Regions from separate parts of the Homo sapiens genome. Here all the other regions are linked to region 2. Evidence: promoter capture Hi-C in 16 types of primary human blood cells and fetal thymus (Javierre and others, 2016). All regions are on one chromosome and are shown on one strand. The core of a region is centred on a gene start or on the middle of the fragment in contact, and the rest is flanking DNA. Distances in the headings are between cores, read along the strand shown. Region 1 overlaps GRK5 (G protein-coupled receptor kinase 5). Region 2 holds the start of GRK5 (G protein-coupled receptor kinase 5). Region 3 overlaps GRK5 (G protein-coupled receptor kinase 5). Region 4 overlaps GRK5 (G protein-coupled receptor kinase 5).

Region 1 (3,185 bases), core at 286-2,785, 150 kb before region 2:
GATCCCATTCCCTTCCACACGAATGACCTGGAAACACAACCTGCTTTGCTGCATCAACCCACAGCTGCCTTGCTGGGCCACGCAGGACCCGGAGGCTCCCCTCTTGCCATAACCATGGAGAGAAAGTGGCTCCTGGAAAACAGCTACAGCTCATCTGAGTTACTGGTGTGGATTACATGTGGGGTTCCCTGAAATAGGCCCCCGTAAGGGCATGTACTGCCCCCAAGCCCTCTCGTGTGTACACACATCTCCTCCAGGAAGCCTTCCTGGATTGCCCCAGCCCCACCCCTGGCCTCTGGCACAGTCTCTCCAAATGGCTCCTCTGATGCACAGCACCAGCAACCCCCCTGGTGTGACCTAGGGGACTCCAAACAGTGGAGGGGGCTCAGGGTGTGTTATGAACTGAACTGTGTTGTCCCCAAATTCATATGTTGAAGCCCTAACCCCCAATGTGACTATATTTGGGGGTGGGGCTTTGGGGAGGTAATTAAGGTTAAATGAATTCTTCAGGGTGGGGCCCTAACTGATAGGGCTGGTGTCCTTAGGAGGAGAGGAAGAGACACCAGAGAGCTCAGAGGAAAGGCCGGGCAAGGACATAACAGGAAGACAGTGGATCTACAAACCAGCAAGGGCAGAAGCCAGCCCTGAGGCACCTGGATCTTGAACTGTGGCCCCCAGAACTGTGAGGAAAGAAATACCTGTTGTCTAAGCCGCCCACTCTGTGGTATTTTGTCATAGCAGCCTGAGCAGACTAATACAAAGTGGATGATCCAAAGAGCAAGGCTTGAGGCTCAGTGCTGCCATTTACAAGCTTGGTGACCTCTGAGGAATCCCTGGGCCTTAGTTTCCTGGTCTCTAAAATGGGGCTGCTGACTCTGCCCTGCCTGCCTCCCTGAGAGGCCTGTGGAAGAGGAGCAGATGAGGGCACAGACAGGACCATGATTTGGGAGATGGAAATGCACCATGCACGCCTCAATTCCTGGGGGCAAGGGGACCAGGACCAGGAGAAGGCGGCCAGGCTGCCGGGTGGAGGGCCTGGGTGGAGGCATGAGATGGATACAGGTCCAATCCTGGCACCACCACTCAGCATCTGGGCAATGCCAGTCAAATCACATGGTCAGAGCAGCTACTATTTGCAGAGCATTTGCTACACCCCGGGCATAATCACTCTGTGCCCTTGGCTGAGTAATGGGAGGGACTCCTGTTCCTCATGGGTGACTGTCAGACAACATCCGAGCTAGGACCAGCCATGCATGCTGCGTGGACACCCCAAAACACTGCCACCCTTGCCCTCACCTACCTGTGGCTCAGGGACTCTCACTCGTGCTCCAGGAACTCAGGCAAGCTGGCCCCTTTCTCCCTCCCCACTGCACAATGGGGAAACCAGCCGGGGCCTTAGAAACAAGGGGCCAAGCCATTTCGGGCCATCCGTGATTCCATCCAAGGCTCACATACTTTCCATACTGAGGCCTCTCCCCTTTGGGTGTGATTGATGCAGCCACCCCGAGAGGACCAGGATCTGCTCAGCAGACGCTGCCCACCCCTGGCTTGGGAGGCTGCCGCTGCACCTTGTCCAAAACTCAGTCCCTGTGGGGTCAAGGCATCCGAGTCAGGAAGCGTGCCCCACCACCCACCCCCACCCTGCCAATGGCATGGCTAATGTTGGAGAAGACCAGAGACATAAAGGGGGCACAAAGGGAGGGAGACTTAACTACGTGGCCAAGAATGCAGGCAGCAGAACAAGAAGTGGGGAGTGAACCTGGGGACAGCCCTCTTGCATGGAAAGAAGCTCATGCAAAGCTGTCAATGGTGGGGCCAGCAGGCCTGAGTGTGAGCCGCTATTGCTATTGTTGAATGGACTTCAGTCAGAATTTCCCTGGCACCTGGATGCAGGCCTCTGGAAGGCAACCAAGCCAACAACAATCCAGACTAATGCTTCCCCCACTCCACTCCCCAGGAGCAGGCAGCAGGAGGCAACCAGGAAGGCACGCACCAGGATGGAACGATATCCACCAGGGTTACCCGCGTCTCATTATCAGCCACAGCCTTTCCAAACATCTCCCTGACCCCCGCTCCCATGAGGGGCTTTACCACAGGTGCCTCAGCTTCCACTTCCCTGGGAACAGAACTGCAGACACAACACAGGCCCTTTGGAAGGCACCTTCTCTAGTGCTGAGGGAATTTGCCTAGAGCAAGGGAAGGCCACAGCCCACCCTACCCCCCATTTGTGACTTTATCTTTGGAGCATAAACAAGCTTCATCTGCACTTACAGTTATTCCTTACCCAGCCCTGCTCTGTCATTAAAATGAGAAAAAACACCATTTCCAGATCACTTTCATTACTTTGATAGGGCAAGGCATCTGGCATCACTTCACTTCGCTTGGGCTCCAGGGTCCAGTTGGCCCCCAGCCACCTTCACACCTCACTTTGTTAAGAATTTTTTCTTCCCTAGCATGGGCCTCACACACATGCTGTTCTTTGGTGGGCAAAGACATTCCCTGCCTTCTTTGACAATGCCATAGAGGTAGCATGAGATAGCTCAGCACTGGTCAGTTGCTAAAGAGAGGGCTGGCACAGCAAATTTTAGTAAAGCAAAGCCTTTATCGTTTTATCAGTTTTGAGAAGGGTTCCTATATGAGAATACAAAGCCTCCTGTAGATTGCATTGAAAACTTGTGAGAAAAGGGATCGGTAGTGGCTTGGGCTGAGCCTGCTAGAGACTGAAGCATACAGAAGGGCTGCAGTTCTGTTTTGTTGTTGTTGTTGTTCATCTTCTCTATTCTTGGCATCTCCTTGTGGATGGTTCTGGGGCACACATGGGGTTAAAGGGCAGAAGAGGAACTGGAAGAGCCCAAAGCCTGTGTAAAGTTGGATTTAGGTAATGCTGGATATAGAAATCCAGGCACAGTAAAGGGGCTGATCTTATTGGGCATCAAGAAGATAGACAAACAAGACTCTAGCTAGCCCAAACTCAGAAATCAGACAGGATGCCAGAAATCAAGAAAGCATGAGCCACGAACATGGTAAAAACATAAAATTCTGGGACTAGAGACTGATTCTATAAAGTCTTTGAATTATTTCTTATAAGTCCAAGGTGATTGTGATTCTACTCTATGCTCCAGATTCCCTGATGGACCACTAACATTCAACTTAACTAAGGAAGAAGGTCTAAGCAAATGAACTGT
Region 2 (3,502 bases), core at 593-3,092:
CACCAAAGCTAAGCAATGGGAGGGAGACTAACCTGAATATTTTAAACTCTGCTGGGGTTTTCAAAGCACTGCCTCCCTTCGGGGCTTCTGAAATAAACCTTCTTGCCCACTGGCTGCTTTAGAGTGACAAGTGACGACGAAAGTAAGACACGAATGCCGGGTTGAGTTGCTGAAACGCTGCCCACGGAAGGCTATGCATCACCTACCCCCACAGTGTGTAGGGAGCCACAAGGTGATGGAACGGGCTGAATAAACACGAATCGTTTTATTGCTGGCCAGAAATTCTTCCCTTCATTCATCAAAGTAGGTGAATGAAAATATTAAGCAGGTAAGACATTTTCATGGGCTGCTCACCGAGTATCCTTCTAAACTCAAGCCCTTACTCAGTCTGCCTTCTACCTTGTATCAAATAAAGCGTTCTCCCGTGAAAGGGAAAAACCTCTTCCCCTTTTATGAAAAAGGTCGCACACTAGAGCTCAAATCTTGACCAGAAAAAAAAAAGGAAAATATGCGACATAAATTCCAGGTATTCCTAAATACATATGTTTACATGGACACAACACAATCATTTCAGGAAGCACCCAAGTTTCTGCCTCCCCCCCCTTTTTTCTGTTTTTCATCAAAAGGAAGAGTCAAAATATGCGTTCTTAGGGTTTGACTCAGGATCTTACACACTCCATTTAGACAATATTTCCTGCCAGCTAAATGCAGGAAATCTAATGATTTGCATAGAAAACGTATCTAAAGCACCAGCACACTTACCTTTCTTTTCTTAACTGAGCCAAAATCTAACAATTTCAGTTATCACACTCCCAGAAAAGAAAAACCTGAAATACTGAATTATTTTCTAGGTGGTCTGTACAGCCATCCTTTGATAATTCTATGAAAAGGCTAATTCCTCAACATCTGACTTTGCCTTTAAAAGGCTTCCTTCCACACGACGGGATTTCCCTAAGAAACATCCCAGCGGATGGTTTCCAGCAATAGTCTATATCAACTCAGCCTGCGCAGGCAAAGACTTGGCTTCTGCTCATTCCACCCCCGCCCCTCGAACACACACACCAGTTCACACAGAACCATCCCGGGCCGACTTGAAACGCTATTTTATGTGCATGTTTGCTCGTCGCTCCCCGAATGAATGCTTTTCCAACTGACCTTTCAACAGCTGCCGAGATGGCACGCTCTGCAGGGCGAGCGCTGGAAACTAGGAGATATGTTAGCATCCAAATCCCTGCAACCTTCTCAGCCCAAGTCCAGATTCTCTGAGCCCCAAGGCAGGAACCCTGAAGGGTCTGCAGAGCCGCTCTCCGAAGTGTCCTGCTCGCGACCCACTCGCCGGCAGCGGGCATCCTGCACGGGCGCAGCCCCAGCCCGCACGCCACCCGACACCCGCACCCTGGCCCGCGGCGGACGCGCCGGGCACGTACCGGCCCTGCCTCTTACCTTCCCTGGCTTTCAGCAAGACCGTGTTGGCCACGATGTTTTCCAGCTCCATTGACAGTCGGCGGTCAGCAACGGAGCCGGCCGGCGGGGCTGTCAGCGCCTGGGGTGCTGCCGCTGCTGCTGCCGCTGCTCGGGCTGCCGCCGCTGCTGCCGGAGCCGGGGGAGCCAGCAGCCCGCCTTGCCTACCGCATTATTCCTGCTCTCAGCCCAAGAGTTTCCCCCTCTGCAAAGAGGAGCCGCCGCCGCCGCCGCCGCCGCCGCCGCTTCTTCCTCCCTCTGTGTCCCCCCTCCCCCCTCCCTCAACACGCTCCCCCCCACCCCCCACCCTCCGCGTGTCTCTGTCACTCCATTCTCCTCCCCTCCGGCTCCCTCGGATGCTTTAATGCCTCGGATGCTTCTGCCTCCCCTCAGTCCCTCCCGGGGGTGTGGTACTAGCAGGCTCGGGCGGCCGCACTGCGCAAGCGCCGGCCCAGGCGCGCCTCCTGCCTCGGTGCTCGCGGCGCGGGGCCTGCTGGGAGCTGGAGTCCTCCCGGCCGCGCGGCGCCGGGGCTGAGCTGGGCTGGCGCGCGGCTGTCGGAGCGAGGACCCGCCCCGGGACGGCACCGAAAGCGAAGGCGGGCACCGCCCGGCCGACAGGCGACTCAAAGGCGGCCCAGCCAAGCCGAAGTCCCCAGCACCCCCCCGCAGGCTCCCGCTTGCCCCCTTCCCGCCCCGTCGCCAGCCCGGAAAGCGGAGTGCACGGGCCCCGGTGACGGCGCGTGAAGCGCCGCGGCCCGGCAGGAGCCAGTGCGGGTCCCGAGCCGTGCTCGGAGTGGGAGGGCTGCCAGCTCGGCCGCGCGCCACAGCCCGCTTCCTCCGGTCCGCGCCAGGCCCGCGAGGGTCTGAGTCCCGGGTCAGTGACGCGCGCCCAGGGTCCCCGCACGCGGCGGCGGCCGGCCCGGCCTGGCCCCTGCCCAGCGTCTCCCACGCGGCGCCTCGGGCCGCGGACAAAGATGCACTTTGTTTCCTCGGAGGGCGCGAAGGGCTCTGCGGGTCGGCTGCGACCCGGCGCTGGCTGCCCGCGCTGCTCTCGGTGCGACCCGAGCGCCCCCCGCCGGCCGCGGTGCGCGGCGCGGGGTCTACGCGGACGGCGCCTGGGGCTCAGGGTCCAGCGTGGGAAGCTGCTTATTCTGTGAATAAACTGCCTTCCAGCACACCCGGCCAGCAAATCCACGAGCCTCCCTGCAGCCAAACCCAGCCAGATTAAGTAATAAAAACGCAGACGGAGTCGCCGGAGTCTCCGCCGTGGGGAGCGTTAATGAGTAACAGCCAGGCCAGCGCCAAGCCGGCGTGGGATTAACGTTTTTAAATTCCGGTCTTATTTATTTTGGGGCTCTTAGCTCCTTCCAGTGTTATGCTCAGAACATCAGACTCCAGGTCTGTGCTCAGCCCCGTTTCCTTGCTCCCTCCGCTCCGAAGGCCCCACTCCTGGAAATGGGCTGTCTTCGGTCACCCGGGATCTGCCACGAGTGTCCTACAGCTGGGGGCGGGGCAGGCAGGCCCCAAAGAACAATGAGGCCTTTGCCTCCTCTGCATCCTGCGGGCCGGATATCCGTTCAGAAGCCGACTCTGGGCCTTCTCTGTCCAGAAGGAGGAAACCCTCTGTCCCCAGGGCTGCCAGGAAGTCGCAGGGAGGTGCCGAGAGAAACAGAGAACAGTTATTATGCATTGGAGAATATAAAGAAATCAATAAACCTTCCAGGCCTTGGAAACTGGTCTGGTCACTGATTGTAACAACCCAAGATTACCTGCTTTCCTGGGGGAGTATACCCACCACCACCACTTCCTGGTGTCTAGACTTGGGTCAGTGAGTCTCCCAGGGCCTCATTTATCTTGTCTGCAAAATGGGGGCAACAACAGTTTACCTGTCAGAAGGCGGAGGGCTCAGCGGGTAACTTTTCAGGCACTTACCACTCCAGGAATTACTGTTCTAAGCAATCCAGGCTTGGTCTTTGCTACATATTCACGTGCCTAGAGCCCTAACCTTTAATGAAAGGATCTCTCTCAGACAGCGAGACCC
Region 3 (3,203 bases), core at 180-2,679, 220 kb before region 2:
GGGGACTGACTATATGGATTATGCTTTATCTCTTCAGGAGAATGATGCCCAACTTTAAAAAGGGGTGTGACTAGAGGTCTGGATGGAGAAAAAGATCTACAATGTAAGGGAAAAACATTCCTCCATAAGAGGTACAGGAAGATCCCATTGGCTAAGAATAATAAAGCCTGTGCATGAATAAAACATGCCTGGAGTGATTACTCAAAGAGGGAAGCTTTTCGTTTTATTGTGTATCCTTCTGTGCTGTTTAAATTTTTACCTTGTGTATATATTATTTTTAATGTATGCATGTATTTAGTTTTAGAGATGAGGTCTTGCTGTGTCACCCAGGCTGGGGTGCAGTGGCACGATCATAGTTCACTGCAGCCTCGAAATCCTGGGTTCAAGCAATCCTCCTGCCTCAGCCTTCTGAGTAGCTGGGACTACAAGCATGTACCACTGCACCCAGCTTTATTTTTTATAACAGTGTGTAGCAGAAGATATTAGAGCTGACCAAATATCCATGCACTTCACATTTCCCAGCCTCCCCTGAAACTAACTTGTCTCTGTGTTGACTGGTTCTGGCTGGCAGACTGTGGGTGAAACTGAGGAACATCTGTCCAGTAGAGGCAGTGGAAAGTCTCTGTGTGGAACCCCTAGCACTCACTTTCAAGGCTCCAGATGGGGCAGCTGTTAGATGGAGGAGGGTGGCCCAATCTGATTGGACTTCAGGTGAGTGACAGATGAACCTCTGCTGTATTTAGCTACTTAGGGTTTGGGGCAAATGTGTTACTGCAGCAGGGCCCAGCCTAGACTGACTAACACAATGCACACAGACTTGATAGTGCCATTCCAGGATGCTGGCACTAAGGTCCCCACCACGATGGCACCAGCCTAGAGGGTCTGTGGAACCCACAGCTCCCAGCCTGGGCCCAGGTGAACTTTCTTTGTCCACTGAGGAGTTTACAAAGTGGTCCAGGAGAACAGAGGCGTCGGTCTCATGCACAGCAGGGAGCCAGGCACTGGCCGGCTCTGGGGATGGGACAAAGCCAGCCACAGTCGACCACAATGGGCCGTGTGATGGAGGAATGTCTTGCGGCCTTTCTGTAGCTCAGCGCTGCCACTGGCATTCCCCTTCCCAGGGGTGGGGACCGGCCGCATTAGAGGACCACGCCCTTCCGGAGGGAGGGAAGCCCCAGTCCACAGAAGGGCGAGCCGGTCACTGGGCCCAGATGCTCACTCACCACAAACTGACTGTTGACCTTCTCGAGGATCTGCTTCTCATTGAGGGCCATGGACTCCCCTTTCCTCTTTTTGATCCTCTTCTTCTCCAAGCGCTTGCAGGCATACATTTTACCCGTGGCCCGAACCTGGCAGGCACAGACCTGCAGTGCAAGAAAGAAACCAGGGTGGCAGGAGCACCGTGGAGGCCTGCCCCGAGCTCCTCCAGGGCGGGGACCACAGGCCTCCCAGGTAGAGAATGGATGGGGTCAGAGCCGGCCCTGCCTGGCTTCATGAGTGCTCCAGGCTCCCAGGACCCAGTGATGCCTGGCCTGGGGCCCACAGCTGTCCTGGGCCCTTGCCCTCCCTCCTCCTCTCCTTCAAGGATTCCCAGCCCTGGAAGGGGCAGAATGAGCCACTCACACCAAGGCTTAGATAACTGACTGGGGCCCCAAGTACCGTTCCATTCCCAGGGCAACAGGATTTTCTCCTACCGGCTGCCGGTAGAGAAGTTTGTTTTGGGAGGCAGTGATAGGAGATCCTCAAGAACACTGACTTCATAATCCAGATAAGCGGGAACCAAAGCATTTGGGCTTAAGTCTTAGCTCTGCCTCACATTGTCTGCGCGCCCTTGGCTGGGTCACCTAACCATTCTGGACCTCAGCTTTCCTCATCTCTAAAATGGGAATAACAAGGCTTGCCTCACATGCTGGGAAGATCGGGTAATGTACAACGAAATCTCGAATCTTGCATGACAGCGTCATCCAGGCACTGAGTGGCCAAGGTTGCCCAGCCTCCTCACGCCCTCACATCTCCTCCCCACACACGACCAGGGCTGCCCATTTGTCCTCTGCAGGCTGGATCCTGCCTGAGGCTGGCAGGAGAGCACGTCTGTCTCACCTGCCCAGCTCCACAACCTCTTTCCACCATAGACACACCTGATAGCCCCAAGGCCACTGACTCTCTCCCACCCTCACTGCCCCCGGGGCCCACATTGAGCCACTGGTGCCCCCGGGGGACCCGTGGGCCAACCCTTTAGGTTGATTTAGAAGGGACAGGAAAGGTGACTTGAATGTAAGAACTTTCAATTAAAAACGTGAATGTTCACTCACCTCCCCGAAGCCCCCTTTTCCTAGCACTCGATACTGCCTGAAAGTGTTTTTGGTCACCGGTTGCCTGGAAGAAAGAAGAATCCCACACTGGTCTCATGGTGCCAAGACTCAGAATCCACAGGAAACAGTGGCACATTGAGAGCAGCTGGGGTGGGGTATAATTCCAGGAGCCCCACAGCAGCCCCAGGGACCCCCCAGGAATCATCGCTGGAGACTGGACCTTCGAGGACTTAGTCTGAAGCTGAGTGTTCAAATCCCAAGCCCCCTGGCCCCCAGCCCCCAGCCCCCTGCAAGCTGGGGGATGCACAAGCCTCGCTTGCTCAGAAAGCTTGAAAAACCTGAGTGCAGAGGTGCTTGACCACACTCTCCATGTGGTTCTCCTCTCTCTGCAAATCATGCGGCGAAACTCAGAAGGAAGCTGTGCCTTCTGTGCAGGAAGGGGTGGGGGCCAGGAGCCACAGAGGACCAGCGTCCCACAAAGGACGCGAAGGAGGTCACAGCCCTCCCTACACCTGTGCATCTCAGTCTGCCCAGCAGGATGACAGTGCTTCCTGTCCTGGGCATGGCTTATTCCTTCCTGAGGGCACTCCTGCTGCTGGCCCAGAAGACCCGGCCTCAGGAGGGGGCAGAGGCTGCTGGTCTTCAAATCGTGTCCTGGGGATCTTTACCATTGGTTCCCAACCTTTCCACCACTGAGGACCCTTTATTGTATTTCCCACATAGATGAGGAACATGAGAAGATCCTGCCTGCCAAGATCGGATTGGAAGTAATGATCACCTCGCGTCTTCCAACTCCTCGTTTTAATGAGCCAAAGCCATTTATGACATTGAATCAGACAGAACTTCTGATCATGAGGCATGATGGCACTTTTTGGACTAAGCAAAGACATG
Region 4 (3,355 bases), core at 798-3,297, 200 kb before region 2:
AGCAGGTCTGTCCACCAGAAGGTCCTTTATGGGGTCATCTGCTCTGCCTCCTGCCTTTGTAACATGCTGGGCCAATCACAGTGCTAAGGAATTTTCTTAATTAAAACCAGATGGAGGGGCCGTGGCCATCTCAGGAAGAAACTGTAGGATAGGGTTGCTGGGTGGGGGAGAAGTGCCCTGGTTCGGGGGTTCCCAGCCTAGGTACCGCCGTGTCGGTCTCATGGTTTCATTTGACCATAGGAGAGAACGCCCTCCTCCTCATCTCTGCAGTAAATTCCCTCTTTGTTTGAGCAACTGGGAGGAAAGTATCTGCCACTTGCTGCCAAGAATCCAGACGAATTCACCATCTGTAAAATCAGGGGCTTAGGCCAGGTGAGCAGGAGGCCTCCAAGTGCTCTTCACACGGCCAAGAGCTCCCCTCGTCTCGCCGAGCTCCGATTCCCTGAGCTCACTCAGCCCTGCTCACCCAGCTGCAGCGACGGGGTCTGGGGTGGGGAAAGCAGAGGGTGGTGGGGCGAATGGGGGCTGTTCCAACCCTAAACCCTGGCTTGCAATTAAACATGCTCATACGGTCACAACCAGAGAAAAAGGTTTGCTGAGCAGCAGGCGCAGAGAGCATTTCCTCACTTGAGGGTTGATTTAAGGCCTGGCTGACAGGAAGAAAAAGCACCATTCTTCCACCTTTTTAATCAAAACCTTCAGGGCCATGTGGAAAAGCCACTGCCACACACCCTCACGTCCGTCTGGAGTGGTTCCTTTCTCTGTCCATGGCCAGGCAGGAGACGTGATCCACAAGCCCCAGACAAGAACAGACCAAAGGAAAGAAGGCAGGGTTTGGTTTTCGGGGTCACTGGGGAGAAAAATAAATCAGTCCGGCCACACGCTCACGAGCTGTGCGGGCTCGTGGCCTGTCCCTCCCTCCACCCTGGGCCTGATGCCAACATCCAGCAGCCCTCGGCCCAAGCACGCCCAGCTCTTCACCGGGGTGTCCTCGTGGTCAGCCCAGGCGATGGACTGCACGGCCCGGGCACCGTGCCAGGCACAGCCCTGCCAGGCAGAGACACACCGGACCGGCAGCCTGTGGGTAGAGGTCCTTGTGATCGAGGCTGGAAGGCTCTCACTGTGCCTCTTTTGAGTTCAAAGGAAGGTGATGCTCACCGTTTCCCATGAAGGTGGGCACAGCCTCCAATCAGAAGCGGATCTGAGGCCGGGCGCAGTGGCTCACGCCTGGAATCCCAGCACTTTGGGAGGCCGAGGGAGGTGGATCACCTGAGGTCAGGAGTTCGAGACCAGCCTGGCCAACATGATGAAACCCCGTCTCTACTAAAAATACAAAAATTAGCCAGGCGTGGTGGTGTATGCCTATAGTCCCAGCTATGCAGGAGGCTGAGGCGAGAGGATTGCTTGACTCCAGGAGGTGGAGGTTGCTGTGAGCCGAGATCGCACCACTGGACCCCAGACTGGGCGACAGAGCAAGACTCTATCTCAAAAAAAAAAAAAAAAAAAAAAAAAAGAAGCAGATCTGCAATGAAGCTGAGGAGGCCGAAGCTTTAGGGTTTTGTTTGTTTGTTTGTTAATTGAGACGGAGTAGTCCTTTATTTGTAGTCCTGGGAGCTACAGAATGCTCTATCTTGGGAGACAGAGCATTTCTACAGAAGCACTTCCGGGAAATTGAGGTCACAGATGAAAAGGATATGAATCTCCAAGCCCTCAGTAATTTGTTGTGATTTCTTTTCTCCTTCTCAATATTCACTTTTGTACCTAACCTCCTATTCTTTTTCTTAAAAAGCATGCTCAGCAAGTTATTTAAGCTTCAGTCCCCCCTCAAAGAAACTCTGGATCTTCCCTTGTCTCCAACTCTCAAAGGGGCCTCTCCAGGGCCCTTCCAGAGGCCATGATGCCTTTAGGAAGATGGCATCCAGTCTGCCATTTTTATCTTTCCTTGGTGAACAGTCCAAAGACCTAGAGTCTAAGGGGTCTCTGGGCTCTCTGGAGTCTTGTGTGTCTGGCGGAGGAGAAAGTGGGAGTGACACCATGACACAGTGTTCAGAAGTAACCAGCATCCACGAAAGGCCTGTGACTCCATCATGGTGCAGACACACACCACCACTCTTGCAACCTCCTTAATTCTTTGGCTGAGGATCTCTTGTACCTCTTTGGTGGTGACCATGAGGGTAGCTGGGTTTTCCACCAGGCCAGGAAGAGACTTCAAGGCATGGGAGCTGTCTTTGTGAGCAGAGGTGGAGGTGGGGCCACTGCTCCAGTGACCAGTCGGAAAGCTTCTTCAGCTGGGGTCCATCAGCCATACGGGTTCCCTGAGTGCCCATTCTGTGCCCAGGCCATGAGGTCCACCCTAAGGACCCCAGAGACCAACTCTGTTGGCCAATGGCAGGAGTTCAAGGTCAGCAAGGACTGCAGGCTGTAGAGTGCAGGTCACAGCCCCTCAGCACCTAGGAGAGAGCGCTCACAGAGGTGGCCTCTTTAGACACAGGTGGCTCCACGGCTGTGGAGAGGTTTGATCATGGCCCAAAGGGTAAAGGGGGTTTAGCCAGGCAATAGGGAGGACCCTTCTATCCTCCAGCTCATGCCATTTGTGCGCTAGGAACTCTTCCAAGACTAGAGCTCTGGATGAATTCACTTTTCCTAATGGCAGAACTGACACTTTTCTAGACCCCTTTCAGATGGTAGGGTTGCACTGAGGATCACAGGCAGACAGCAGGCTCAGGGCTATGAGCAACCAAGTGAGGGCCGTGTGGCTGGGAAGTGCTGGGAGCAAGCCTTGCCTTGGGGCTGCAAAGCGTCGGGGGTGGTTCCAGCCCCTTCACAGTGCCCTGCTGACCTGGTCAGCCTGAGACCCAGCGTGTCATGTTCTCTGGGCCAACAAAGTAGAAAAACCCAGCCCTTCAGAAATAGCTGCAGCCCTTCAAGAAAAATAAAATGGACTGGGTTTGAAAGACCCTGACCCACATTTCCTTTGCTATTCCAGTGGCTTCACAGAAATAAGGAAGAAGTGCGCTTAGGGGTCGGGAAGCGAGGGAAGATATCTTTAAACGCTGGCAGAATTTAACTGGGGGCCCTGAGAGCTGGGCAACTTTAATGAGAAGGAAAGGAAAATACACAGTGACCCTGACCCAGACCCCGACCCTTTACGTCAAAAGCAAAAGACGATAATTAACAAAATGCAATGTGCCCGGACGTGGAGTGAGAGGCCAGCTGAGCTCTGTCAATTTGATAATCCCTGGTCGTGACCCGCAGGCCCAAAGTGTGCAACAGGAGATGACGCACTGTTTACACAGGCCGCGCACGCGGGGGCTCGCGGGACCCGGCGCAGCTGCAGGAGCAGCAGCAGGAGTGG

The links. Contacts are between HindIII fragments. The CHiCAGO score rates a contact against its expected background, and 5 or more counts as called.
Region 1: a contact is called between a fragment that was not itself captured here and the fragment with the promoter of GRK5 in region 2, in 8 of 17 cell types (endothelial precursors, total B cells, M1 macrophages and 5 more). The highest score is 10.8, in endothelial precursors.
Region 3: a fragment that was not itself captured here is called in contact with the fragment with the promoter of GRK5 in region 2 in 2 of 17 cell types (M0 macrophages and M1 macrophages); the score reaches 7.2 in M0 macrophages.
Region 4: a contact is called between a fragment that was not itself captured here and the fragment with the promoter of GRK5 in region 2, in 17 of 17 cell types (M0 macrophages, M1 macrophages, total B cells and 14 more). The highest score is 24.0, in M0 macrophages.

Annotation. Positions count from the first base shown.
Region 1 is chr10:119,356,298-119,359,482 of GRCh38, reverse strand. All of the region lies in intron 2 of GRK5 (G protein-coupled receptor kinase 5), which reads right to left. Among named protein-coding and RNA genes, the nearest start is that of GRK5-AS1, 19 kb to the right of the region's middle. The HindIII fragment of the contact is 1,444 bases long and covers 814-2,257 here.
Region 2 is chr10:119,205,911-119,209,412 of GRCh38, reverse strand. GRK5 (G protein-coupled receptor kinase 5) reads right to left here and starts at 1,842. Exons shown (of 16, transcript NM_005308.3): 1 at 1,444-1,842. The coding sequence starts at 1,495. GRK5-IT1 (GRK5 intronic transcript 1) reads right to left here and starts at 992. Exons shown (of 2, transcript NR_186528.1): 1 at 763-992. RefSeq lists silencers at 1,416-1,465, 1,516-1,585, 1,796-2,625 and enhancers at 2,966-3,075, 3,096-3,145, 3,256-3,335. The HindIII fragment of the contact is 5,116 bases long and covers 1-3,502 here.
Region 3 is chr10:119,429,548-119,432,750 of GRCh38, reverse strand. It overlaps GRK5 (G protein-coupled receptor kinase 5), which reads right to left. Exons shown (of 16, transcript NM_005308.3): 7 at 2,313-2,376; 8 at 1,224-1,364. Among named protein-coding and RNA genes, the nearest start is that of MIR4681, 53 kb to the right of the region's middle. The HindIII fragment of the contact is 2,426 bases long and covers 217-2,642 here.
Region 4 is chr10:119,410,001-119,413,355 of GRCh38, reverse strand. All of the region lies in intron 4 of GRK5 (G protein-coupled receptor kinase 5), which reads right to left. Among named protein-coding and RNA genes, the nearest start is that of MIR4681, 34 kb to the right of the region's middle. The HindIII fragment of the contact is 468 bases long and covers 1,814-2,281 here.